4 separate regions of the Homo sapiens genome follow, and all the other regions are linked to region 1. Evidence: promoter capture Hi-C in human tissues and cell types (Jung and others, 2019). All regions are on one chromosome and are shown on one strand. Each heading gives the region's core, a stretch centred on a gene start or on the middle of the fragment in contact. The rest is flanking DNA. Distances are from core to core; before and after follow the strand shown. Region 1 holds the start of GRIN2A (glutamate ionotropic receptor NMDA type subunit 2A). Region 2 holds the start of LOC101927026 (a long non-coding RNA gene). Region 3 overlaps LOC101927026 (a long non-coding RNA gene). Region 4 overlaps LOC101927026 (a long non-coding RNA gene).

What was found. Contacts are between HindIII fragments. The study calls those that stand out against the background at their distance.
Region 2: a contact is called between a fragment that was not itself captured here and the fragment with the promoter of GRIN2A in region 1, in 1 of the 25 tissues and cell types used here (dorsolateral prefrontal cortex).
Region 3: a contact is called between a fragment that was not itself captured here and the fragment with the promoter of GRIN2A in region 1, in 1 of the 25 tissues and cell types used here (dorsolateral prefrontal cortex).
Region 4: a contact is called between a fragment that was not itself captured here and the fragment with the promoter of GRIN2A in region 1, in 1 of the 25 tissues and cell types used here (lymphoblastoid cells).

The regions. Positions count from the first base shown.
Region 1 is chr16:10,180,589-10,186,787 of GRCh38, reverse strand. It overlaps GRIN2A (glutamate ionotropic receptor NMDA type subunit 2A), which reads left to right and starts at 4,360. Exons shown (of 13, transcript NM_001134407.3): 1 at 4,360-4,911. RefSeq lists silencers at 5,093-5,152, 5,163-5,272. The HindIII fragment of the contact is 17,773 bases long and covers 1-6,199 here.
Region 2 is chr16:9,465,520-9,471,718 of GRCh38, reverse strand. It overlaps LOC101927026 (a long non-coding RNA gene), which reads right to left and starts at 5,188. Exons shown (of 6, transcript NR_188390.1): 1 at 4,709-5,188. The HindIII fragment of the contact is 4,444 bases long and covers 846-5,289 here.
Region 3 is chr16:9,487,410-9,493,608 of GRCh38, reverse strand. All of the region lies in intron 1 of LOC101927026 (a long non-coding RNA gene), which reads right to left. Among named protein-coding and RNA genes, the nearest start is that of LINC01195, 35 kb to the right of the region's middle. The HindIII fragment of the contact is 8,627 bases long and covers 1-6,199 here.
Region 4 is chr16:9,506,190-9,512,388 of GRCh38, reverse strand. The region is part of intron 3 of LOC101927026 (a long non-coding RNA gene); the gene reads right to left. Among named protein-coding and RNA genes, the nearest start is that of LINC01195, 54 kb to the right of the region's middle. The HindIII fragment of the contact is 8,339 bases long and covers 1-6,199 here.

The DNA of each region.
Region 1 (6,199 bases), core at 3,111-5,610:
GCTGAGAAGCAAGGAAGCCAGTCCGAGTCCCAAAGCTGAAGAACTTGGAGTCCGATGTTCCAGGGCAGGAAGCATTCAGCCCCAGGGGAAAGATGGAGGCCAGAAAACTGAACCAGTCTAGTCTTTCCATATTCTGCCTGCTTTTATTCTGGCTGTGCTGGCAGCTGATTAGACGGTGCCTACCCAGATTGAGGGTGGGTCTGCCAGTCCACTGACTCGAATGTTAATCTCCTTTGGCAACGCCCTCACAGACACACCCAGGAACAATACTTTGCATCCTTCAATCCAATCAAGTTGATACTCAGTATTAACCATCACAGTTGATATAGCTGCTATGAAGAAGTTTTTCTTATCATCTGAAACTCTTTGAGCAGCAAAATTCTGCTTAGCATCCTAAGCTGCATTGAGAATTAAGCTTGGCAGCATAGATGGAGTAAGGCTGTCATGATCTTATACACGCTGTCACAGTCTCTGCATGTATGGTGAAGTTCCAGGTGCCTGACACACGATGTGCTCCACCCTGGTGACATGTCCACCCCAGTGCAACTCCAGCCTCCTGTGCCTATGTTTAGAGGCACAGTGTCCCTTCCAATGAAGGGCTGCCTTCTTTCTCTATTCAAAAGAGGCCGTATCAGTTTGATTTATCTTTCTATAAGTCTGATCATGAATAACTTAAAACCCTGAATACCAGTATTTTTCAAGAAAGACAAATCCAATTTCAGGGTCAGCATCAATTTATGAGAATAGCAAGTGCAGAGGCATCATCAGAATCCCCTATGGATCTAAAATAACTGTCCGTGCTTGGCCCCACACCTGGAGATCCTGATGGAGTAGATCTAGAGTGGGCATAGGCATCTGTGTTTTATTTTCTTTATTTATTTTTTTTGGGACAAAGTCTCACTCTGTCACTCAGGCTGGAGTGCAGCAGTGTGAACACTTGGGTTGTCATCATGTTGCCCCGGCTGGTTTCAAATTCCTGGGCTCTCATCATGTTGCCCAGGCTGGTTTCAAACTCCTGGGCTCAAGTGATCCTCCTGCCTTAGCCTCCCAAAGTTCTGGGAGTACAGGCGTGAGCCACTGCACCCAGCCACATCTGTATTTTAAAAAGTCCCATAGATAAAACCCACATATCCATTGCAGGAGACTGGATACACAAAGTGTGGCTTATCCATGCAATAGAGAGCTAGCTGCTCAACAATAAAAAATAAAAAAGCTGTTGATACATGCAACAACACAGAGGAATCTTCTAGACATCAGGGTAAGTGAAAAAAGCCAGTCACCAAAGAATACATAGTGTAAAATTCCACTTATATGAAGTTCAGAAAAGGGCAAAACTAATACATGGTATTAGAAATCAAAATTGTAGTTTACACTGAATGGGGGGAGTGGGATTGACAACAAAGGGACACAAGAAAACTTCCTGGTGGTGATGAAAATACTCTGTACCTCATTTTACGTGACGGTCTATGTGGATACACACAATCTCAAAAGTAACAAACTGGCTGGGTGCAGTGGCTCACACCTGTAATTTCAGCCTTTGGGAGGCCAAGGCCAGAGGATTTCGTAAAGACAAGAGTTTGAGACCAGCATGGACAACATAGCAACACCCAATGGCTACAAAAAATAAAAAATTTGCCAGATGTGGTGGCATGTGCTAACCACCACAAGTCCTAACTACTTGGGAAGCTGAGGCAGAAGGATCACTTGAGCCTAGGAGTTCAAGTTAATAGTGAGCTACGACCACACCACTGCACTCCAGCCAGGGCAAGAGTGAGACCCTGTCAAAAAAACAAAACAAAACAAAACAAACAAACAAAAAAATAAAAAAACACCAAAAAACCTTCACAAATGAAACCCTTGAGAGATATGCATTTTATTGTCTATAATTTATAACTCATTTAAATAAAATGGCCTAACTTCCCCTTTAGACCCCAAGCCAGAGTCTTGCATGGGTGCCAAGGAGTGGCCTAATCAGTTCAGCCCAGCCATAGACTCAAGAAAGGAAACATTTTCCTGTTCCCTGCCTTATATTATACAATCCCCCATTTTAATTTACTTTCCAGCATTTCCCTCACGCTTTCTCTGTCTTTTGGATTAAAAAAAAAACAAAAACAAAAACCCAGGAAACCCAGCATAGAACAACCAGCTCAATAATGAATCCATTTGTCTCCACACACTGTGCCCCTCTCCTGTCTCCATTTCAGCAGCCACATCCACATTCTTGGAAGAAGTTCCCCTGCTTCCAGGCTACTTCAAGGTGCATGATGTTGATTGAGCATCTACTATGTGCCAGACCTTGTTGACCCCTTTATTAAGGCTACTTCCTTTTCTTTTCAAAATAATCCTGAGAAGTAGATGTTTTTACTGCCCCCCATTTCCAGATTAGTGATCAATAAAGGGAAGTAATATAATGTCCAAAAGTGATATTTTAGTTTGATCCAGGTGCCATAGCAAAACATCATCAACAGCAGAAGTTTATTTCTCTCACTTCTTGAGGCTGGGAGGTCCAAGATGAAGCAGCAGCAGACTCAGTATTTGGGGAGGGCCTAGTTCCTGTTCATAGGCCGATGCCTTCTTGATTAAGTCTCACTTGGTGGAAGGACCTAGCTGACTCTCTGGCATCTCTTTTATAAGACCACAAATCCCATTTTACTCTCATGAAGCCATGAAGTCACCTCCTAAAGTCCCCACCTCCTAATACCATCACCTTGGGAGTTAGGATTTTATCCTATGAATTTGGGGGTGGGAACACACACATTTAGACCGCAGCAGGTGACATTAGGTTAAGTGGAGGAGGCAGGGTTGGAACAGTCATTGCAAAACCTCTTAGAATTTAAGACCCCTTTCCTTCCAAGGCCTGAAAGGCAGACAGGCGTTGGAGATACAGGTGAATATAAAAGGGGCAGAGCTCCTCCCTTGACCATGTATTTCATGCCCAGTCGCTAGAATTCAAGTCAACCAAGCCCTCACACACCCGGGCCGTCCCATGTTCTCTGGCTCACCTCTTCTGGTAGCTTAGAAGTGGCAGCCTCAGGGAGGCTTCTGTTTGGTAGAACTTAGAAGGAAGCATGTGGGAAATGCAGATGTCTTTGCTTTTAGGATTCTGGCTCCCTGAGATCAGAGGAGTGGGTTCCCGTACGGGGGTGGCGAGGCACAGGGAGAAGCATTGGAGCAGACTCTGTGTGTGTGTGTGTGTGTGTGTGTGTGTGTGTGTGTGTGTCGGCGCGCCTGTGCGTGGAGGGGGATAACTGTACCCAGCGCGAGGCACTGGGGGAGGAGGAAGCGGTAGCAGAGATCTGAATAATTGATTCTTCAGCCGCACCAGACGCCCGGGAGCGGGCGGAGAGCGTGGTTCCAACACCACGGACAGCAGCGCGCGCCGCCGCAGGCGCCCCCGTCGCCAGCCAGCCACCTATCCTGGCCTTATTTGCCGCCGTGCGCTCTCGGAACGGGTGGCCGCGCTCCGCGTCGCCGCCGAGGGACTGCGGGGTCTGTCTCGACCCACCTAGGAGAGAGGCTGCGGGCAGGAGACGCTTTCGCCCGCCGGAGCTCGAAGCCTCTTGGGCTTGAGCGGGGGCTACTGCGTCTCGCCGGCTGAGAACAAGTCCCTAAGTTGGTGTGGAGGGCGCCGCTACCTTCCTTCTCCTCTTCCTCGGAGGCGACCGCAGCAGAAAGACGCCCCGGGAACCCGGCTTTGCCAGTGCTGTGAACCAGGGTGTCCAGGCGCTCACCGGACTCCCGCTGGGAAGTGGGGAGCCGAACGCCCGGCGCGGAGCTGGCCCAGCAGCGAAGGGCCCGGAGGGAGCTGCCTTTCCCCGCCCGCGCCTCTCTCGGCCGGGGACCGCGGGGATCCCCGGCCACACGCGAGCGCGCTCCCACACTCACACACACACTCGCCCTCAAACACACCAGCCCGGAGCTGGGTTGCGGAGAGGGTGCTCCGGCGCGCTCAGAGGACCGGGCAGTTGCCGTCCGGAGTGGGGCAGGAAGCGGAGCTAGGGATCTTGGAGGGGAGCTCCTAGGGCTTGGCCGGATCATGGGACCGGGTGAGCGCTGAGAATCGCGGCCGCAGCCATCAGCCCTGGAGATGACCAGGAGCGGCCACTGCTGAGAACTATGTGGAGAGAGGCTGCGGTGAGTGCTAGCGCGGGACGCCGGGCCTGGGAGGCCCCCTTGGGAAGGGGGGAGGTGGGAGGCCTGAAGAGGGAGGAAGCGGCAGGATCACAAGAGGGTCGCTGCGTGGGAAAGATCCACCTCCCTCGGGGAACCGGGACCGCGGGAGCCCGCGTCCTTCCCTCCCCCTCTCCTACTGCTGGCTCGTCACAAACTCAGCCAGCGCCCCCCCACCCTCGTTACCTCCTCTTTCTCTCCCTACCTCCCTCGCTCAGCAGCTCCCGGTCGCACAACTCCCAGCAGCCGGCGCTGGGGAGGTGGTAGGGGGTGCGGGTGGAGGTGCCCAGTTAGCTTCTCGTGGGTGGCCAACCTGGGGCTCCCATTCTCCTGTGCACCCTGGAGTGGAGCTCCCGCTATCAGCCACAGGGGCTGAGGATCCGCACTGGGGGCGTCGTGGGCATCGGGCTTCAGCTTCCCCCCTCTTGTCTAGCCCCCCTGGGCGCATAGGGGGGCTTGTGAGCACTGCAGACTGCAGCCTTCCCCTCAACCCTCCCTCCCCTCGTTGGTGGGCTGACCCTGCCTCTCCTTCTCTCCTCCGCCCCGTTAGAGCCCTGCTGCAGAGCCTCCGGCTGGGATAGCCGCCCCCCGTGGGGGCGATGCGGACAGCGCGGGACAGCCAGGGGAGCGCGCTGGGGCCGCAGCATGCGGGAACCCGCTAAACCCGGTGGCTGCTGAGGCGGCCGAGATGCTCGTGCGCGCAGCGCGCCCCACTGCATCCTCGACCTTCTCGGGCTACAGGTACGTCCCAGAGGGAGATCAGGGCTCCTTGGGCCGGGGAGGAGGGAGACTCGACCGGAGGGAGAGCGGGAGAGGGATCAGGCTAGAGAGGGAGAGGGAAAGCGGGAGGGAGCCCAGCGGCGAAGTGCAGGAGGGGCACCAGGGGGCGCTGCGGCTCCGCGCTCCGCGGCGCTTACCCAGGAACGTCGAGGCCTCTTGGAGTTCGCCTCAACTTCCCCCGGCTCCAGCAGCGTCCGTCCCGAGAGGCGCGCGTCAGGGCACGCGTGCACGACCGTGCTGGTATTTGCAGGTACGCAGGGCTGTGCACCTGCCGCAGTTCATGCGTGTGCACCACCTGAGGACATGTGAGGACTCCGGCTGGCCGTGGGCACCGCTACAGCAGTCTGAGGAAGTGCGCAGAAAAGCGCGCGTGCCTATGAGCGTGTGCGGCCCACTGCCCACGTGCACCTAGGACTTGGCAACAGCGCCCGCAGTAGAAAGGCTAGGGAGGGGCTGTACAGTCCACGTCCGTCTGGGAGCTTCTTGGGAGCCTACCTTTCCCCCTACGCACGTTCTTTGCCAGCTCCTACGCGCTGGCCCGCGGGGGGACGCGCCTACTCTCCAGAATTCAGCATTGCACACGGCGCGCGTGAGAGAGGGTGTGTGTGTGTGAACATGTGTGTGTGCGTGTGTGTGTGCACGTGTGTGTGCACGCGCGCGTGTAGGGGTGAAGGACTCTCCACGGCCCCTTGGCTCGAGGTGGGGCGAGCCCCAAGTTCCCCAGGCACAGCGGAGCCTGGGCCCACCAGGCAGCGTCCTCACTCCCAAGCACTTGGGGTGTACTCTGACTGAGAGGAGCCGGGTCTGTAGTTGGGGCTGGGCGTAGAGCAAAGTGTGTGGTGCACACGACGGGCTCGTAGGGGGCGGGGTCAGCCAACTAGCTGAGCTCTCAAGCTGGGACGCGGGGTCTGGGTGCCGCCTCCGCACGCCCTGCGGGGTCTGTAGTTCGCTCCGCGCCAGCAGGGGGCGGGGTTGATAACTTGGTCCTCTCTATCCCAGGTGGGAGGGGTTGGATGGAGGGTTTATTCTGTGCACCTAGGAGCTTGGTGGGGTACAGAACACGCGCGGCGCTTAGGGTCTGTGGCCCGCGGCGAACTTGGGGAATGCGGTGGGGGATATGGACAGAGATGGGGATGGGGAAGTGCCTGGAGACAGGGGATGAGGAAGCTGGATGCGAGAAGGGGCTGGGGGATGGAGAATTAGCTCGAATTGGAGTTGTGGATAGAGTTAGAGATGGATCGAGGGATGT
Region 2 (6,199 bases), core at 1,818-4,317, 710 kb after region 1:
AGGCAAGTCACTAGACTCAGCACATACTAAAGGGAGAGGATTACGTAAGACGTGAATACCAGGAGATGCTGATCATTGGAAGCCATATTAGAGGTCTACCTACCACAATCATATTGAATATGCCAATCCAAGAACATGGTATCTCTCTCAATCTCCCCTCTTTTTCCTTTTCAATTGCTCTTAGCAATGTTAATTGGTTTTACTATTAAAGTTTTGCATATCTTTCATTAAATTCATTCCTAAATATTTTATTTTTGATCTTCTTCTAAATGATATTTAAATTTCATTTTTTAGTTCCTTATGATCAACAAATTTAAACACAAGTGATTTTTATATTGACCTTGAATTTTTTGACTTTGCTAATTTCATTTATTATGTCTAGAATTTTATGTAGAATTTTCTATGTAGACAATCATGTCATCTGAAAATAGAGAAAAATTTTACTATGCCTTTCAAATTTCCATACCTTTGTTCTTACTTTTGATGCCTTGTTGCACTAACTAGTTCCCCCATCTAGCAAAAAATTTAATAGTGGTAAGATATTCTTGCCTTGTTTCTAATATTGTGGAGGGTGGGGGCAAAAGCATTCACTAAACAGTATGTTAACTGTACAGCTTTTATAGATGCTGCTTATCAAATAGAAGATGTTCCCTTCTGTTTCAATTTCCTAAGAGTTTTTCATCACAAATGGGTTTCCAATCTGTTATCAAATCCATTTAGTGAATTTTTAATTTAAATTACAATACTTTTCAATTCATAATTTTCATGTTTTTTATGTAATTTCCATTTTTTGTTGATATTCCTTATCTGTTTACCCAGAAGGGCCATATTTCCCTTTAAGTTCTTGAATATATCTAATTAGATGCTTTATATTCATAATAGCCAAGTATGAAACAACTAAATGTCCATCAGTGGACAAATGGATAAAGAAACTTATTTCATGATGAAATACTAGTTAGCTTTAAAAACAAGGAGAGCCTGCCATTTGCACAACATGGATAAACCTGAAGAACATTATGCTAAGTGAAATAAACCAGGCACAGAAAGAAAAATATTATAAAATTATTTTTTCTAAAGTCAAATATATAGAGGTAGAGATTAAAATATTGATTACCAGGGACAAGAAAAAGGAGTAGTGAAGAAATAAGGAAATGTAAGTCAGCTGATATGAGATAGTACATATATAGGACTAAGAAGTCTGAAGGTCTAATGTACAACATGAAGACTATAGGTAATAAAATTGTACTGTATTTGGAATTTCTGCTAAATAAGTAGATTTTAGTTGTTTTTGCAACAAAAAACAAAAAAAAGATAATTTGTGAGATGATGGATATGTTAATTTGTTTCACTATAACAGCCATTTTATTATCTGTATGTTACCCATAGCATTATATTGTATACGTTAAATATACACAATAAAATTTATTTTAAATAAATTTAAAAATCAACCAATAAGTTGATGCTTTATATTCTTTTTCATAATATCCATCATCTTGGTATTGATTTCTATAAACTCACTTTTGTTCTTGACAATGAATGGTTAACATTTTCCTGACTCTTTGCATGTCTAGTGATTTTTTAGTGTATACTGGACATCAATAAAGGAACATTATAGAGACTCTGGGTTCTTTCACTCTAAAGAATGTTGATTTTTATTCTCTAAGGAGGATCAGTTACTGAGGAATCACCTTTAACATGTGTAGTCTTGGCATTATGCTTTGTTAAAGTAGATCTATAGAATCCCCAAGGTTTTTCCTAAGCCCCTCAAACTCCAAATGTTGATGTCTCTGCAGATTTTGCCAGGCTAGATTTTAAGCTTTGTTAGAGAAGATCCAGAGAAGACCTTGCTCTATAATATATTCCCACATCATAGGAGTATTTTTCCTGGTTTCTCATCTGGATGACCAACATGTTAACAAGGTTTCTCAACTGTGGGTAGACCACAACTCTCACATCTCCTAGTACTCATTAACCTGCAGTATTATCTTCTGTCAGCCCATGACAGTGACTCACTGGTAAGTCTTGCATAATTTTGCTCTGCACATGTGCATCCCTCAGCCAAGGAATCCTTTAGAATCCCTACAGAGACTTACTGAGATTTCTCTGTTCAGCTCCCTCCTTTCCAGTGCCCTGCCTTATAGCTTCCAGCCACTTCAGCAGTCCTGATCTCTGATCTCTGCCTCATCAGATCAGTAGCACTGCTACTTCCTACCCAGGCTCCAACTCTCTGCACCGTGATCCAAAGATTGTCCCAGCCAATACCACACTGATGTGGGTCTTACTTCATGAGTTTCCCACACTCCAGGATCACAGTCTTGGGCTGCTTACTACCCAGTGACTAGAAGCATAAATTTTGTTTAGTTTTATACTTTTTTAAAGCAGGGAGGCTAACCCAAAGCCAGCTGCTTTGTCAAGGCTGGAAGTGGTATGATTTCTGGCATTTTGATTTGGGGGAAGGACGGTCCTCTTCATAAAGAACCCACTTCCTCTCATTCCAAGTTGCTTTGAGCAGTAGCATTGTGGGTCAAAAGCCCCCACTGTGCTTCTTCTGGTATCTGATTATGTCAGGGCATGTCCAGAGGGTCTGTGGGGTAGGCCACTTTAGGGCCTATACTCATCCTAACAGAAAAGAGCTCCTAAGAGAAGTGGTCCAGGGGTTGGTGAAGAGGAATGAGTCTCCATTACTCATATCTCCTTCCATTCCAGTAATGTGGACAGAGCTTAAAATCCTAGAAAGATTGAGAGAGTGCACAATAACCAAAAATTCCCATTTGCTGACATTTTTGAAGAAAGTTGATATCAATTGTAATAATAGTATTGGTTGAACACTAACTACATTCCAGCCATGGCTAAAGAGAACTCTCCATGAACTAACTTACGTAATTTATACAAAAGCCTAATGACAAATGTTCTGTAACTATCCTGATATTTTAGATGAGCTTAACCAACGTGCTAAGAAAATAAGTACCTTCCCCATGGTAAACCAGCTTAACTAGTAAAAATGGAACCTTGCACCTTTGACGATCATTCTACCCTCCCACTCAGTACGATGTATACCAAGCAATCTGAGATGTATTATCTCTTTTAATTTTCTTAACTACTCAGTAAGGCCAGTAATTTACAGATGAGAAAGCTGAGGCTCAGAAAGGGATAATTACTTTACCCAAAGTCCTTTACCTGATGAGTAGGAGCTCTGAGCTTTGAACCCGGTTTTATCTGATTCCAATCCAATGCTCTTTCTCTGGCCTCCCATGGAAAAAGTCCAGGAGTCCCCAGGGAATTCAGTGAAAAGAGAAAAAACATTTCATGGCTATTTTGTCCATCAACATCTGGCATTGATGGTCTCAACCAGGGACATATCTCAGCAGCAGGAAGGGGAAAGAAGTGGATAAGAAGTGCTTGGGCTTGGGTGAGGGTGTAGATGAATGGGGGTCCTACAAGGGTAGATCCCACACCGACAGGGAAATATTGTTTGTGCCTGGTGTTGAGACCTATTCTTATCACTATACTGAATTGGCCTGAGGGGGAAAAATTGTTACCCCTTTTATTTCACAAACTGCTTTGGAAAGTAGAAAAGTTTAGTGTTGGCAATTTTGGTCTCTCCTCAGCATGAGCTGTTTCCAATTGGGTTTGTAATAAGATAAATGATAAAGGTGCTGGCCCACAGGAAAAGAGGAAGGCTAGCATTCTGATCAGGGAAGTTTGCTTACACCAGTAATCAAACACGGTCTGAGTATGCGTCAGAGAAAGAGACGCAACATGAATCAATCTGAACCTAAAATGACTTCCCAAAAGAAGATTCCCCTGATAAGTAAGCAAGCCTCATAGAAAACAACAGCACAGTTACTTGCCTTTCTATTCCATTGCAACTGTACTACTTACTAGCTGTGGGTCCTTAGGCAGGTTATTTCACTTTTCCAAGCCTCAATTTTGTCATTTATAAAAATGAAAATAATAATGGCACTAATAAGACAGTATCTGTCAAATAAACCAGTGGCTTTAATGCTGAAGGGAGATCTTCTGAAGCAATTAACACTTGAACAAGACCTGAAGGATGAGACCAGGACAGACATACAAAAATCACATAAAAGAATATCCCAGGAAGGGTCAGGAAGCATCAGCGGAACAGCAAGTGCAGAGGTCCTAGGGCAGGAAAGGATGTATGTGCTCAAGAAAGAGAAGGACAGTGTTGCTGAAACACAGAAAGCAGGAAAAAGGGAGAGAAAATCAGCTGAAAGCAGGGTCAGATCATGTAGGAATTTTAGGAGATGGTAAAAACGTTGTGTTTTATTCCAAGTGTAAAGGATGGTTTTTAGAGGATTTTAAAGTGAGAGAATAACATAACTTGGCTCATCCCAGACTAGCCATGGACGAATTGGATCTACAATGCTTACTAAAGTAACGAGTGCGGCTGCTGGAGGTGGAAATGCACAAAGTAAAAACTCAGTAAGTCGTAGCTGTCATGCCTCTCATGGTTGTAGCCATATGGCCTTGTCCTGAGCAAAAGACACTGCTAAAAGGGCTCACTTCCCTGAAGCCAGAGGAAAGTTCTAACCAGGCCACCAACACCACCCCCCCAGGCCTGGGACAGCTGACTCAGGAGCAGAGCGATTTGATCCAGCTGAGCTTATTAAAACTTCCCAGCTTGCTGATGTGGTTATGAAGGTTAGTGAGGAGGGAGCATCCTTACCTGGCTTTAGGGCATTACCTGCTGCTGGGGCTGCGCCTGGACTCCTGCCCTCAAGAGGAGGAGGAAATGATGTTTCTCTGCCTGTGCTCACTTGGCTGTTTTTATTGCTGAGACAGGCCCTTCAGGTAGCTACAAATGAGGGCAGGGACCATGGATGCAATCTGCCCACTCCCTGAGTCATAGAATCTTCCAGGGTCTGTGCTAGGAGGGACCTTCCCCTCATCTAATTATAATGCCAGAAATAAGCTACTGTTTGTTAAGCACCTACTATGCTCTAGGCATAAGACAGTTACATTGCCTCTTTCAAGTATTTAACCACTCTTCCAGAGAAGCATTTTTTCCCTCCATTTTACAGAGACTCAGAGAGGTTAAGTAAATTGCCTAAGGTCACACAGCTATTCAGTAGCAAAGCTAGGATTTTAACCTAGTGTTTTTAACTCCCAGCTTAGACTATATGCTTCTATATCCCTTTTCCCCCACCTGAGAGACGAAGACAGTAAAGGTAAGAATGCAGAAGAAATTGCTTTAAACCAGATGCCTCTATGTGTTTTTTAAAAAAAAACTTTTGTCACAGAAGGTAGGTTCTGACATCACAGTCTCTGTCTATGTGACCTCAGAGAGCAGGACAAGTTGACCCTGATGCTCGCTTCTGGCTTTTAAGTTGAGAGATTCTGTTTCTGTGATCATTTCTGAAAAGACCCACAAAGCAGGTTGTTTAAATAAGACTGAAAACTGAACCAAATCAACAAATATTTATTGACACCTTGATGTGCCAGGATTTATCAGTTAGTAAGGATTCATATACTCTACTTCTGGAGTCTGCTTCTGGCTAAGCTGGAGTAACAGATCAGATTTGCCCTTGCACCTGAAATAACTATGAAGACACAAAAAAATACAAGAAGGAATGGTTTGTTGTTATTGTTGTTTTCTTTTGTTTTTGTTTTTGAGATGGAGTTTTGCTCTGTCACCCAGGCTGAAGTGCAATGGCATGATCTCGGCTCACTGCAACCTCCACCTCCCGGGTTCAAGTGATTCTCCTGCCTCAGCCTCCTGAGTAGCTGGGATTATAGGCACCCACCACCACACGTGGCTAATTTTTTTGTATTTTTAGTACAGACAGGGTTTCACTATGTTGTCCAGGGTGGTCTCGAACTCTTGACCTCATGATCCGCCCACCTCGGCCTCCCAAGGTGCTGGGATTACAGGCAGGCTTGAGCCACCGCACCCAGCCAAAGTAATGGTTTTAAAGCCAGTGGACGGCAGACAATGGAGACAGTGACCCCTATGAGGTGAGAAACAAACGAGTTAAATCCTATGATTCTTACTGCCTTGACAGAATTTCCAGGAGCAGCCCAAAGAGAGGGAAGCCAGGAAGAGCTTCCTCAACTCCATGGACTCTTGGAGTTGAGGAGATGGAGCTATAAGACCAGGAAATCTGAAGTAAACAGAGTTTGCAGGATGTAAAGGAGAGAGACCTGTAGAGGCTCCCCTGGTGTATTGAGCAGAACA
Region 3 (6,199 bases), core at 2,475-4,974, 690 kb after region 1:
TCAGAACAATAGAAATTTTCAATCTACCAAAGGGAAGTCTAGCAACAACATTCCTGGGTGGACTTAAGCATGTGTTTATACACCATTAGCTACTTGGCAGAGTGACTGAGAGAACGCTGTGACCGTAAATAACATAAACTGAGGTTAGAAAAGCTGGGGGCAATGGAAGAGATCAGTGATGACGATTTATTATCCCTGAAATTATAACAGAAGCCCATAATAAAATGTAGTTCAATTTTAAAGGGAAAAGACTTACAAACAACATTTTAGAAATTCAGCTAGAGAGTAAAGCCATAAATAAGTATCTTTTCTGAGGTCTACCTGAACTTGCAGTCAGGTGGATATGAGCCTGAATCTCAGCTCTTTCCTAGCTCCGTGACCTTAAGCAAGTACCAGCCATGTGCCAGATACATCTTGAAGCTAGCTTTAGGCTCCTCTTCTGTAACCTGAGATAAATAATTCAGGGTGACTCTGAGAAGTAAATGTAGAATGCGTGGATCCTATAGTGGCATCCTGGCTCACCACTAATATTCAAAAGATGATAGTTAATGTTGAAATTGTCCCTATATACTGCATAAAAGTCTATCAGTAAAGAAGAAAGGGAGAAAAACAAAAACAAACCAAGTTTGCAGTACACGCAGCATTCATCATTAGGTCAGCTTGCTCGCTCATAGCTGTTTGGTGTCTATTGTTTTAGAATCATGCGCACCCTCTTATAAGATTATAGTTCCCCTTAACTGCTCTAGAGATAATAACTTGAACATTATAAAATATTCAGTTTTTCAATTGAGATATTCTTTTAGGTCCTACATATCAGTGAAACTATTGACATCATCTGGTCTGAAGGCCTCCATGAGAAACTGACTCATCAAGAAATGCGGTTTCCAAGTCCTGATGATTTCATACTCCTTACCCCAACCAACCAATGACCCAAATTTCCAGCCCCTTGCCCTCCATGATCCCCTTAAAAACCCTAGCCCAGAACTCCTTGGGGAGATGGATTTCAGAGTCTCCTCCAATTTCCTCACTCAGTGCCTTTCTCTGCTGTAAACCCTGCTGTGTCACTGTATTGGTCTGTTAAATTGCAGTGAGGATATGCATCTGTTGGTCCTATAACAATATTGTCAACAGTGACGATGATGACAGTGATGATGATTACAGCTCAAGTCTTGTCCCATCTAGAACCTCTTCCTGACGTCTCTATCCCTGATCAATTTTTCTAACCTTTGGGGATAGCTCTGATGTAGTTCTCATCAATTACCTGTATCTATAGTTACCTATAATTATCTCATCAATGATCTATAGTTAAGTAGATAATTACCTGTTTTACTCAAGAGTAAGAACTGTGTTTCAATTAGCTTCTGTGTTTCATGTAATAGTGAAAGTACAAGATTTGCAGTGCAATTGTATTTCAGAGAAGTTCGATCATTTTCTTAAGGTTACATAGCTTATAACTGTAAGAGTTCACTAAGCTAAAATATAGGTCTGTGCTATTCCACAGCCCAAGCATTTTACTTCTACTTCACCTCTCCTCCCTAGTAGGTACTTATCTGTTAATTAAGCTTAGTGCTCTGCTCTTGGGACCCACTCGTTGTTGTTGTTGTCACCAATATTCTTGTTGTTGTTGTTTTTCCAAATTCCATGTTGATCTGTGTGATAAGGGTCTTTTGACTGATCACAGCTCAAATCAATGTCAAGTACACACAGAGGATGGATTCTTGCCCTTCTCTGAGCCCTAGCATTACAGATTCAGTGTAGCAGGACTGAACCAGAAACTGTTTGGCAATGCCTAATCTGTTGCATTTGGCACCAAAGATGATGGTGGATAAAACTCTTGATGGCATCATCCTTGCCTGGTTGCACGTAGTAAGGAATTAGAAGTCCCCTAGCGTTTGTGTCCAAGCTAATTTAGACTTGTTTTCCTTACTAAAACTCATGGAGGTTTGACCTACTCATATGATAGATGCACATGCCCTCCACAGTCTCCTTGCAAATAAGGATCGCCGTAAAGGATACCTAGAAAAACTGCTGCTCCTCCAGGGTCTGTGTACTCTGAGCATTTTGCCTTCAATGTGAGCCTAGGGTCAAGGGCTCTTGATATAGGTTGCTAGGATTCTAGTTCTAGTTTTACCACCTGCAAGCTGTGTGAACTTGAAATAGTTAATCTCTCTGTGCCCTTTTCCTTTATGTACATAATAAGGATTATATCCCTCAAACATAGCCTGTTGTAAGGAGTTAATGGGATGCCATGTGTAATATAGCTAACAGCCTTGGCTCCCAGGCAGTCAATGCTCCCCTGAGCTCATCACCAAGGGAAGGACCTTGAAAAATGTCACTAGGAAGGACCAAGAAAAATGTGCAACTCAGGTTGGCCTCTGTGAGGGTAAAAGAAACTCAGATGATCTCAGCCCTTCCATTTCTGCTTCCTTCCTTCACCTATCACGCACCCCTGAAAATTTTCATGCTGCCGTCACCACACTCCGGGAAAAACACACATGCTCTGGAGTCAGAGCTCTGAATTCAGAGACCTGTGTCTCCAAAGACTGGCTGTATCCCACTGCAAATTATTTCTTCCATTTCAGCGTTTCCACAGTGTGAATGATAATGTAAACTAAGTAAAACAAAAATGCCTTGCCATGAAAATCACAGAATCCATGCTGTTATTTTCTCAGATATTTTAGTCTTACATAAAGGAAGGGTTGTTTTTCTGTTGTTTTTGCAAAAGTCTTCTCTCTCCGTCTGTCTGTTTCTGCCTCTCTGTTTTTCTCTGTGTGCATGTCAACTATCTCAGACTCTTTCTACACACTTCTTTAAATTCTTTGTATTTTTCTCACTCTCCCATGTCTCACACTGTCTCTTTCTGTAAATCACTCTCTCTCTCTCTCTCTCTCCCTTTCTCTCTCTGTGTATGTGCGTGTCAATTCTCTCAACCTCTTTCTTTATAATTCTCTTACCCACTCTGACTCCCAACCATAGTCATTTAAAGTGTATCCTCTAAATTCATCTGCCTGAATTTGCAGACTGGCTCCATACTTGAAGAACTGTGTGAACTTGGGTAATTTATTTAGTCTCTCTGAGCTTGTTTTTACACTTTGAAAGTAAGGAAAATAACAAAGTTTCTACTGCACAGGGTCATCATGAAGAAGAAATACAATAATGCGGCCAGAGCCCCGACCATCATACCTGGCAAAGAGCATGCATTTAACAAATATTCGCTGTTGTGATTATCTGTTTCTCCTCTCTCCTTGATCCATTTATCCTTGTGTCTATTTCAGGTGCATTCTCTTCCTTTATCTTGCTCTGTTTTCTGGCTCTCTCCCTCTCTCCTTTCTTCCCTCCCTCCTTCTCTCTCCTCCTCCCTCTCTGAACAGAGATCCACTGCTGCTCATTTCCTAAATTTGTTTAGCCACATCAATCTCTTGGTCAGGTGCAGATGTCAAGCTGCCCACACACAAAATAAAAAGCTACACTTGTGGTGCCAAGGAGGTATGGGCGGCTTGGGAGCCCTTACCAAGTTTCTCAGGAGATGGCCCAGGGGTTCCATGACGACAGGGCCAGCGCTGGCAATGTTTTCCTATGCCATGGTAACCACCCACCGTGCGTCACTGCAAGACAAACGGTGCCTCTCAGTAAGCAGAGAGATTAACAGCGTAGAATGTGGAGTATGAGCTCTTCAAAGGGAGCAGAATGTTCAACTGTAATTCATCTGAACTCCCATTTTTAACTCAAAACACAAATTCAGTTGCCAATAGAAGTCTATAAAGAATTAATTAGGGAACTTCACAAACAGTCAAAACTCATAAATTTATCACTGACAAAAAGAATCATTTCCTCTGTCAGACGTGAAGTATGGTTGTCAGAAAACGGAAACAAAAAAGAAAAAAACACTCAAAGAAGCAGGCCTGCTGTCTCATTTCTTTTCTCTAATTTGAAGAGAGAAGATAGTTTAGCACTTGGAGGATTCAGAAACTGACAATGCTCCCAGACCCTAAGCTCCATGAGGCTAAAGGCGGCCATGTCTGCAGTGTTCATTGCCAGAACTCCATTCTGTGGCTTGGTGCCTGGTACAGACGAGGAGTTGAAAATATTTATTGAATTGACTAAAATTTAAAAGGAGGCAATGGGAAGGGATAAAATTGATGGTCCAGACTTCTGACATTAAATCTGGCTTCCCTCCATTGCTCTGTCCTACTTCCTGTGAAACAGGAAGTGACACAGTGGCATCATCCCCCTGTCTGAGAATTCCTGACTACTGTGACCCCATTATTACTCTAACAACCCCCATAGTAAGAGCATGGCTTTGGAACATCAACAGGCCCAGCTCTATCCTAACTTCTATTAGTCTCAGTTTTTTCATGTGTAAAATGAAGCTAATTCTTTCATTGACGTCACACAATTTATGGAGATTAAGTGATAAATGCATTTGAAGATAAATATTAGCTACTAGTATCATTACTATAAGGAGTAAAGAGGACCATATTAGTTTGCTAGGGCCGCCATAACAAAATACCTCAGAGTGGGTGGCTTAAACAACTGAAAATTATTTTCCAACAGTTTTGGAGGCTGGAAGTCCAAGATGAAGGTGTCCGCAGCATTGGTTTCATTAGGAGGTCTCTCTCCTTGGCTTCTGGATGGCCATCTTCTTGCTGTATCCTCACATGATCTTTCCTCCGTGCACACACACCCCTGGTGTATCTCTATGTCCAGATTTCCTCTTCTCATAAGGATGCTAGTCACATTGGATTAGAACCCACCCCAACAGCCATGATATTAACTTAATCGTCTCTTTAAAGACCCTATCTCCAAAAAGTTACATTCTGTAGTGCTGTGGGTTAGGGCTTCAACATATGAACTTTGCGGGGACAAAACCCAGCCCATAGCAGGGACCTTAAGTATAATCATACTTCTCAATAGTTTAAGAGAAAACAAAAATTTGCCTTCCGACTGGCACTGAGCTGAGTTCACCCTTGTAAATCCTCAAGCTAAAAAATATTTTTCAAATCTGACCTGCCAGCATGCAAAGATCTAGCCAGCATACCAGCGATATAGGACTAATGCATGCAGCACAGGACACCTCAGCCAAGGCTCTTGCCCTCTCTAGTCCTAATCTAGGAGGAATAGGTTGGACCATGGGGTCCCTAAGATTTCATCTGCTATAATTCTAGCTATATGATTGCTCAGATGCTGAAAGGATCTGCAAAGGCTTGTACAGAAAGTATGAGTTCATATAAAAAATAAGAGTGTTCCCACCTCTATATTGAAAGTTTAGCTTCTGGAGCTCTCCACTGTAGTAAGCATGTGGTAGAGGACACTAAACTTTGGGAGAAAAATGGGAAAAAGCTCAGGGAATCAAGGTTAGGAGCAAACTCATGAAGGGCTTTATCATAGTAACGCCTCCAGCTTGCCTGGCATCCAAAAGATGGGTCCAATTATTACCAGAAAGAAAACCTAACACTGAATCTTGACCACTCATGAAGTGCAGCAGGTAGTGCAAATAATTCCCTTCAAAATGCATTTCAACCTAATCAGGGTCCACCTCTGGGAGTCGTCCCTGGGAGTCGTCCCTGGGAGTCTTTCCTTTCTCCAGCCTCTTGCCTCTTTCTCCTCTCCTTACCCTCATACCCTTGGTATTTTCTATTTCTCTGCCAGGGTCTGGCTCTATCAATGAAGAAACTCCTTACAGCCCTTGGCTCCTGAACATCACCTCTGATTCCTTCCTCTTTTGTAGGAAAAAGCATCAAGCTCTTCACTTTCCTCGGGTGAGAGATGGCAGAGTGCAGTGGTTAAGACAGGCATTCTGGAGCCAGTCTCATTAGTTTTGAATTCCTGATCTCCCACCGATCAGCTGGATCTGTTACTGGGAAAGTTACTTAACCTCTCTATGCCTCCATTCGTTTATCTGTGAAGTGGGAATTGCAATTGTTTCTCCCTACTGGGGCTGTTAGGAGGGTTAAATGAGCTAACATGCATAAAGTGTGAGGACAGTGCCTGTACACAGTAGGTGCAACACATGTTAACTGCTTTTCCTGAGAGGTGAGCATTCATACTAGTGGCTGAGGTTGGGCAGAACAATTTACTGGGGTGCATAAAGAAAATATCTGTTATCATTATCTTTTTAATGTCTATTTTAATATGTGTTTTATAAGATACACAATATACAAACACAATAGTATGTGTTGACAACTTAAAAATAAGTAAA
Region 4 (6,199 bases), core at 1,470-3,969, 670 kb after region 1:
CAGAGAGAACCATGAAAATGCTGGTTGACATCTTTGGTCCACCGAACCAACACCAGTATCTGCCTATCAAGACTTCATGTAGTAAGATTTTCCATGAGGTATAGCCAGAGACACTCCCAACTGTGCAATTCGCTAGGACAGGGGTTGACACAAACTACAGTGAACAGGACAAATCTAGCCTACCACCTGCTTTTATAAATCAAGTTTTACTGAAATACAGCCATGCTCATTTCTTTATTGTTTAAGGCTGCTTTTCTCCTGCAATGGCAGAGTGAAGTAGTTGTAACAGAAAACTTTGGGTACACAAAGCCTACAATATTTGCTCTCTGACCCTTTATAGAAAGTTTGCCAACCTCCTAAGACAAATGTTGCACCTTATTTCTGTTTTTCATCCCTCAATGTCTAGCACAGGGCTGGTATACCATAGACAAGCAATAGTTGTTTGATATAATAGCAATAGCATTAGATGTCATTTATTGAGCACTAACTCTTTGTTAGGAGCCATGCTAAACACTTCTCATTTTTTATCTTATTTCGTCTTCACAACATCCAGGTTGACTGAAATGACTGCTTTCCCCACTCTACAAAGGTGGAGACTAAGGCTTAGAATTGTTAAATAATTCGCCCAAGGTCATAAAGCCAGTGAAGGGCAGAGCCAGCCCTCCAATGCAGATTTGGCAGACTTCGAAGAAAATGCTCTTAACCTCCAGGCTCTTTGCCCTCCCAGCTGTCCAGCTGAATTTGATCAGAGACCATCTTTCATGAGGGAGGACGGTGGCTTTTGTCCTCTTCCTCACACCGCCCTTTGTAGGCCAGGTTTATGAACAATCTTTTTTTCCTTGGGAGACTTCATCATACCTGACTGGAAAAAAGAACCTCTCGGCAAAACAATGACTCTAAATCACTGAAACGGGGGATTTTACAACCACCAAATAAACAGAAGATGTTGTAAATTTTCCCTTGTGTGCTAGCCAAGTAGTTACGCATCTGTCAGGTCTTCTCAGTGGTCATTCTTTCCCTCTGCCTACACCAAGACATGCTCAGACAAAGAGAACTGTGCATCTTGCCTATCAACTACCCCTAAACTTGAGATAGGTATCTTGCCTTATCTTCTGTTGTTGAAAAATATCTTTCTTGCTCATTGTCAATGCCCTCCCAGAACAACTTAGCTTTTAGAAAAAGACAAACATGTCCCCTTGTGCATCTCAGAGTCCTCCTGCCCAGATGTTCAAAGTGATTGTACACAAATCATTCAGCTGTCTCTGAGGGTGGGATCAGAAAGAGCTGGGTGGGCATTGATCACACCAGAGTCTCTTCAACAGCTTGATTCAAGGGTCTTGCCAGAAGACGAGGGACACTTTCAGATTGAGTTAAACATAGTTGGTGGAAATCCCATGGATTTCTCTTAGTAGAAAATCAGTCTGTGATTTAACTTGAACTTTTTTTTTTTTTTTTTTGAGACGGAGTTTCACGCTTATTGCTTAGACATGAGTACAATGGAGTGATCTTGGATCACTGCAACCTCCACCTCCTCGTTAACTGGAACTTCTGTTCAATTCATCAATGAGCACATTCTAGAGAAGAGGGAAATAATTAACACTCATTGAGTGCCTACTAAACACCCCAAACACTACGTGCTTCATGCCATGGTAGAATATTTTATGCACCATGTGTCAGCCCTCTTCTAGGTACTGTGCACATACTATCTCATTTAACTCTAACAGCGATCTTGTAGAGTAGGTGCCATTTTTTATATGAGAAAAAATGGGGCATAGACAGTGTATCAGTTATCTATTCCGAGTAACAAACACCCCCAGACTATAGTGGCTCAAAACAAATCAAGCATTTCCCCATTTCCCACCCCAGCCTCCTAGCCTCTGGCAATCACTGTTCCTCTCTCTAAGGGCACAAATTTCAGTTAGACAGGAGGAATACGTTTTAAAGATCTATTGCACAACATGGTGACTATAGTTAATAATAATGTATTGTATATTTCAAAATTGTGAAAAGAGTAGATTTAAAATGTTCTCACCACAAAAAAAATGGATAAGTATGAGGTGGTGGATATGTTAATTAGCTTAAGTATTCCATAATGTATACACATATCAAAATATCACATTATACCCCATAAATATATACAATTACTTTTTGTCAATTAAAATAACATTTTAAAGAATCAAGCATTTATTTAACTCATGATTCTGTGAATCCATTGAGGGTTTTTCCTGATCTGGGGCCAGCTCAGCTGATCTCAGTCAGGCTCTCTCATGCAACTGTGTTCAGCTTGTGGATAGGCTGTTGGCTCAAGGACAAGACACCTGTCTCTCTCCACCTCCAGCCAGCTCACCTGAGCTTCTTCACATGGCAGTAGGGTCCCAAAGCAGCAAGGGGACAAGTGCACAGCACCTCTCCAGTCTCCATTGCATCACATTTGCCATTGTCCCATTGGCAAAGCAAGTCACATGACTCATTCCATAGACATTGCAGAAAAGTACTTTCCAGGAGTGTGGGCAGAGAGAAGTCTGGATGTATTGAGGCCATTACTGCAGCAATCCACCACAGAGAAGTGATGTCACCTCTCTAAGATCCCACGGCTAATAAGTGGTGGGGGTAGAATTTCAACCCAGATAGTCTGACTCCAGAACCCACATCTGTAAGGACTGTGTTACTCAAAAATACACGATTTCATTCCATTCTTAGATACCTTGGAGAGAAGGTATTACTAGCCCTATTTTAGATTTAAAACACAAAAAGCAGAGACTCAGTATTGTTAGATAATCTGCCTGAGATCATAAGGCAAGAAAACAGGAAACATCTGACTCACTTTTATAAGTTATTGTTTCCTTCCATTTTTACACATACACACGTCCACAAACACACTGCATCTGGCCCTGGGTGAGGGTCATCTTCAGAACCAAACAGTTTAAATACCCACAGTGAAAGTCACCTATTAAATCTTGGATCACATTATATCAAAGTACTATATCTTACTCCTACTCACTTGACATTACGGCTACTTGGGTTTTTAGACGAAAATTATGCAAGGTATCTTTAGATGATGTAACTTATGAGTATTTCCTCATGCCATTTTGTATCCTCCAAATTAATATTATTTGTTCTTACGATGGCCCCATGATGAATTTACTCATTCCCCTATGGCCAAAAAATTTACTCATTCTCCTATGGTCAAAAAATTTACTTATTCCCCTATGGTCAACCTTTTGCTATTACAAATGACCCTGTGATTAATATTCCCTATATAAAACTGTATCACCCATTTGTGACCATATTCCCAGCAGTGGCATCATTGGGTCATAAGCATGAACATTTCAAGTCTCTTGATACACACTGCAAATTGTCCCTCCAGAAAAGATGTACCAGTGCTTGCATACCAGCTACCCATGAAAGTGAGACTCCTTGTATCTCAGCCTCACCAGGACTGAGTATTAACAAGCATGGATGGGTCCATTGGATTATTCCCCATGTGTAACGGGATCAGGCTCTGATAGACTGACTGCATCCATTTGCACACCATAAGAGCCTTCCCACAGGGCCCTAATACTCAAAGTCCATCAACAAAGACACACTCTACCCTGAATTAGCAGTGCTACAATTTATTATCTCTCGGACACTCTTTATTTCACATGTTTCTTCCTGACCAGTGCTTCTTTTTATAGACCACATTGTCTTTAGCTATGAACAACTACAACTAAGTCTCTCTCAGCCTAGGAACTTGAGCTCATTTGTTTTTTCTATCTTAACCCTGACCCATTGTGTATTAATTTCATGGTTTGCTGACTCTTTTCTAATATCCAGGCTAGTTGTTGGGAGGGGTGAGAAAGTCACCTTGTTTTCATCACCACGTACTGTCTACAACACACGTGTTCCCATTTGATCCTCATCTGAGCCATATAAAGTGGACAAAGACAGAGAGGAGAACTAAAACTCACTGAGGTTAAATGGTTCTTAGTAGTTCAGAGCTACTAGTGAGCAATGCCAGAACTTGAGCCTCGCATTGTTCTTTCTACGTGATCTTGCAAGGGGAAGAAATTGGGCCCAAAGCCACCAATTTAAAAGCTCATGTAATCAATAAGTCATGAGGTCCTGGGGATTTGAGTGAGGGATACAATTACAAGAAAGAAGAGGAAGGGATTGAATCTAAAAGTCTTGTGAAAGAAGAATGCCCACTAGGAGAAGCCTACCTGTTTTTGGAAAATGTATTTCAAATGGAAAGTGAAATCAAAATACAGAAGAAAGGAGAAAATGAAGAGTGATAAGTGTCTTCAAATTTCCAGATCCAGTTGTCCCTAAAGCCAATTACTCTACCTCTGCTATCCCTAGTCACTTAAGCTAAGAAAGCCCCCATTGCTTTGCCTATGCTGGCTGGAGTGGAGTTTCTGCCACTTGCAACAGAGAGGGCTAAGTTGTGCATCCACACCACCACTCCAGAGCCATATACAGAAATGCATGCAGGAAAAAAAAATGGCAATCTTTGAACTGGAGTTAACTGCATTAGTATCCAAGACCTTACCATCAGCTCAATCTGCTCTCCTTCCATCTCCCAACTGAGGCCTCTCATATTTACTGATAAGAACTTTCTAATCTTCTCCAGTCTTCCTGGCTCACCAAATATCAAAATCTCCAAGCCAGAGTTTTAGTTCTTGGGAGCTCTACAAATTTGCTCTCTTGGGATGCAGGAGCAAAGGTTGAGGCTGTGAAGGGCTTTAATCAATAGTGCATGAGCCTGAAGAACAGGCAGGAATCAATAATATATTTCCACTATCAACATTTTTATCCTCAAAACAACAGCATGAAAACATGCATGCCAAATGGTAATTGAAAAAGTCAATTTAAAAAGTTATTATTCTCTTTCTTGGTCTTTATTAAAAGGCATAATGAATAGGCTTACCATAAGGAGATGAGATATACTCAATTAGGAAAAAAATAGAAAATACAGTATTTTATAGTGATGGGGTTTGCCCCAACTTTTGCAAAGAGAGTGATTTGCAGTTTTTAGGATGAGTCTGTGGAATGATGCGTGATAAGTAAGAAAAAGGAGGAGAGGTTATATTCAGAGCTCAGAACACAATGAACTTCTGAGTTTATACAATGAGAAATTCCTCTGTTAACTTATACAATACAGTAAATTTCTTAGTCCATGCTACATAGTAGGCTTACAGTGAATGTATATGCCAGTTGGTTAGATGGTAACCACTCTCATTGCCAGATGACTCCAATAGGCAGCTGGTTCGAGAACCACTGGACTTGATTATGTCTCCAGGTTAGGTACTTCTTAAAATTTCACATAGTCCAAAATAGTCTTTCCAAAAATTGATGATGATCTTAGCATTGAGGCTCATGTTTGACTGAATGATTAGACAGAGCTGCTTTACTAAAATCTTTTGTCTCAGTGGACATAAGGATATTTCTTGACTTCTGGAAAATGTACTTCAAATGGGAAAATGGTAAGAAATATAAAATGTGTAAAATCATCCTTACATTTTATTTATTTATTAAATCACCAACTCCTTTTTCTTATCATGTGTCAAATATTTGTTATATAGTAGACATTTTTGGGTACGACATTGGATAAGACCCAGACCATGACCTCAAGTAGATCACAGTCCACTTGGGCAACACTAAGAACATTTAATTGGAATAATAAAGTGTTGGGTTAAAATATAATGTGCCTCTCTCTAGGACCATGGGCTATTGCAGAAGAGGTGGGCAGGTGACATTGTAAGGGTTGGTTTTGAAGGACAGAATTACTTCAGACCCTCCAAATCAAGGACAGACACACAGATGCCTAAAGAGCTAATAGACTCAAGTACTTTGCCTCCTGGGTCATTATGTGGCCCATTTTCATCCATGCCAACTACAAATTTCCCATAAACTTAAAAGAGAATTACCAACAGGATATTAAGATACCTGGTGACAGAGTCTTCTCGTCACCAGTTGTTCCCAGTTATAGGGTTTATGCAAATAGAGATATGATTTTTAAAAATTTGGCCACCTTAGGAAAAATTGCTAAAGAGACTGTAAAATGCATCGTGGCACAACAAAAAACTCTACATTCCTTAGCTTAAATGGTTTTAGCAAAATGCTTATGTTTCATATACCTAATTACTACAAGTCTGTTACTAAAACCAAGATTACAGTAGCTCAACACATAGAATTTATGGATATGTCAATTCCATAA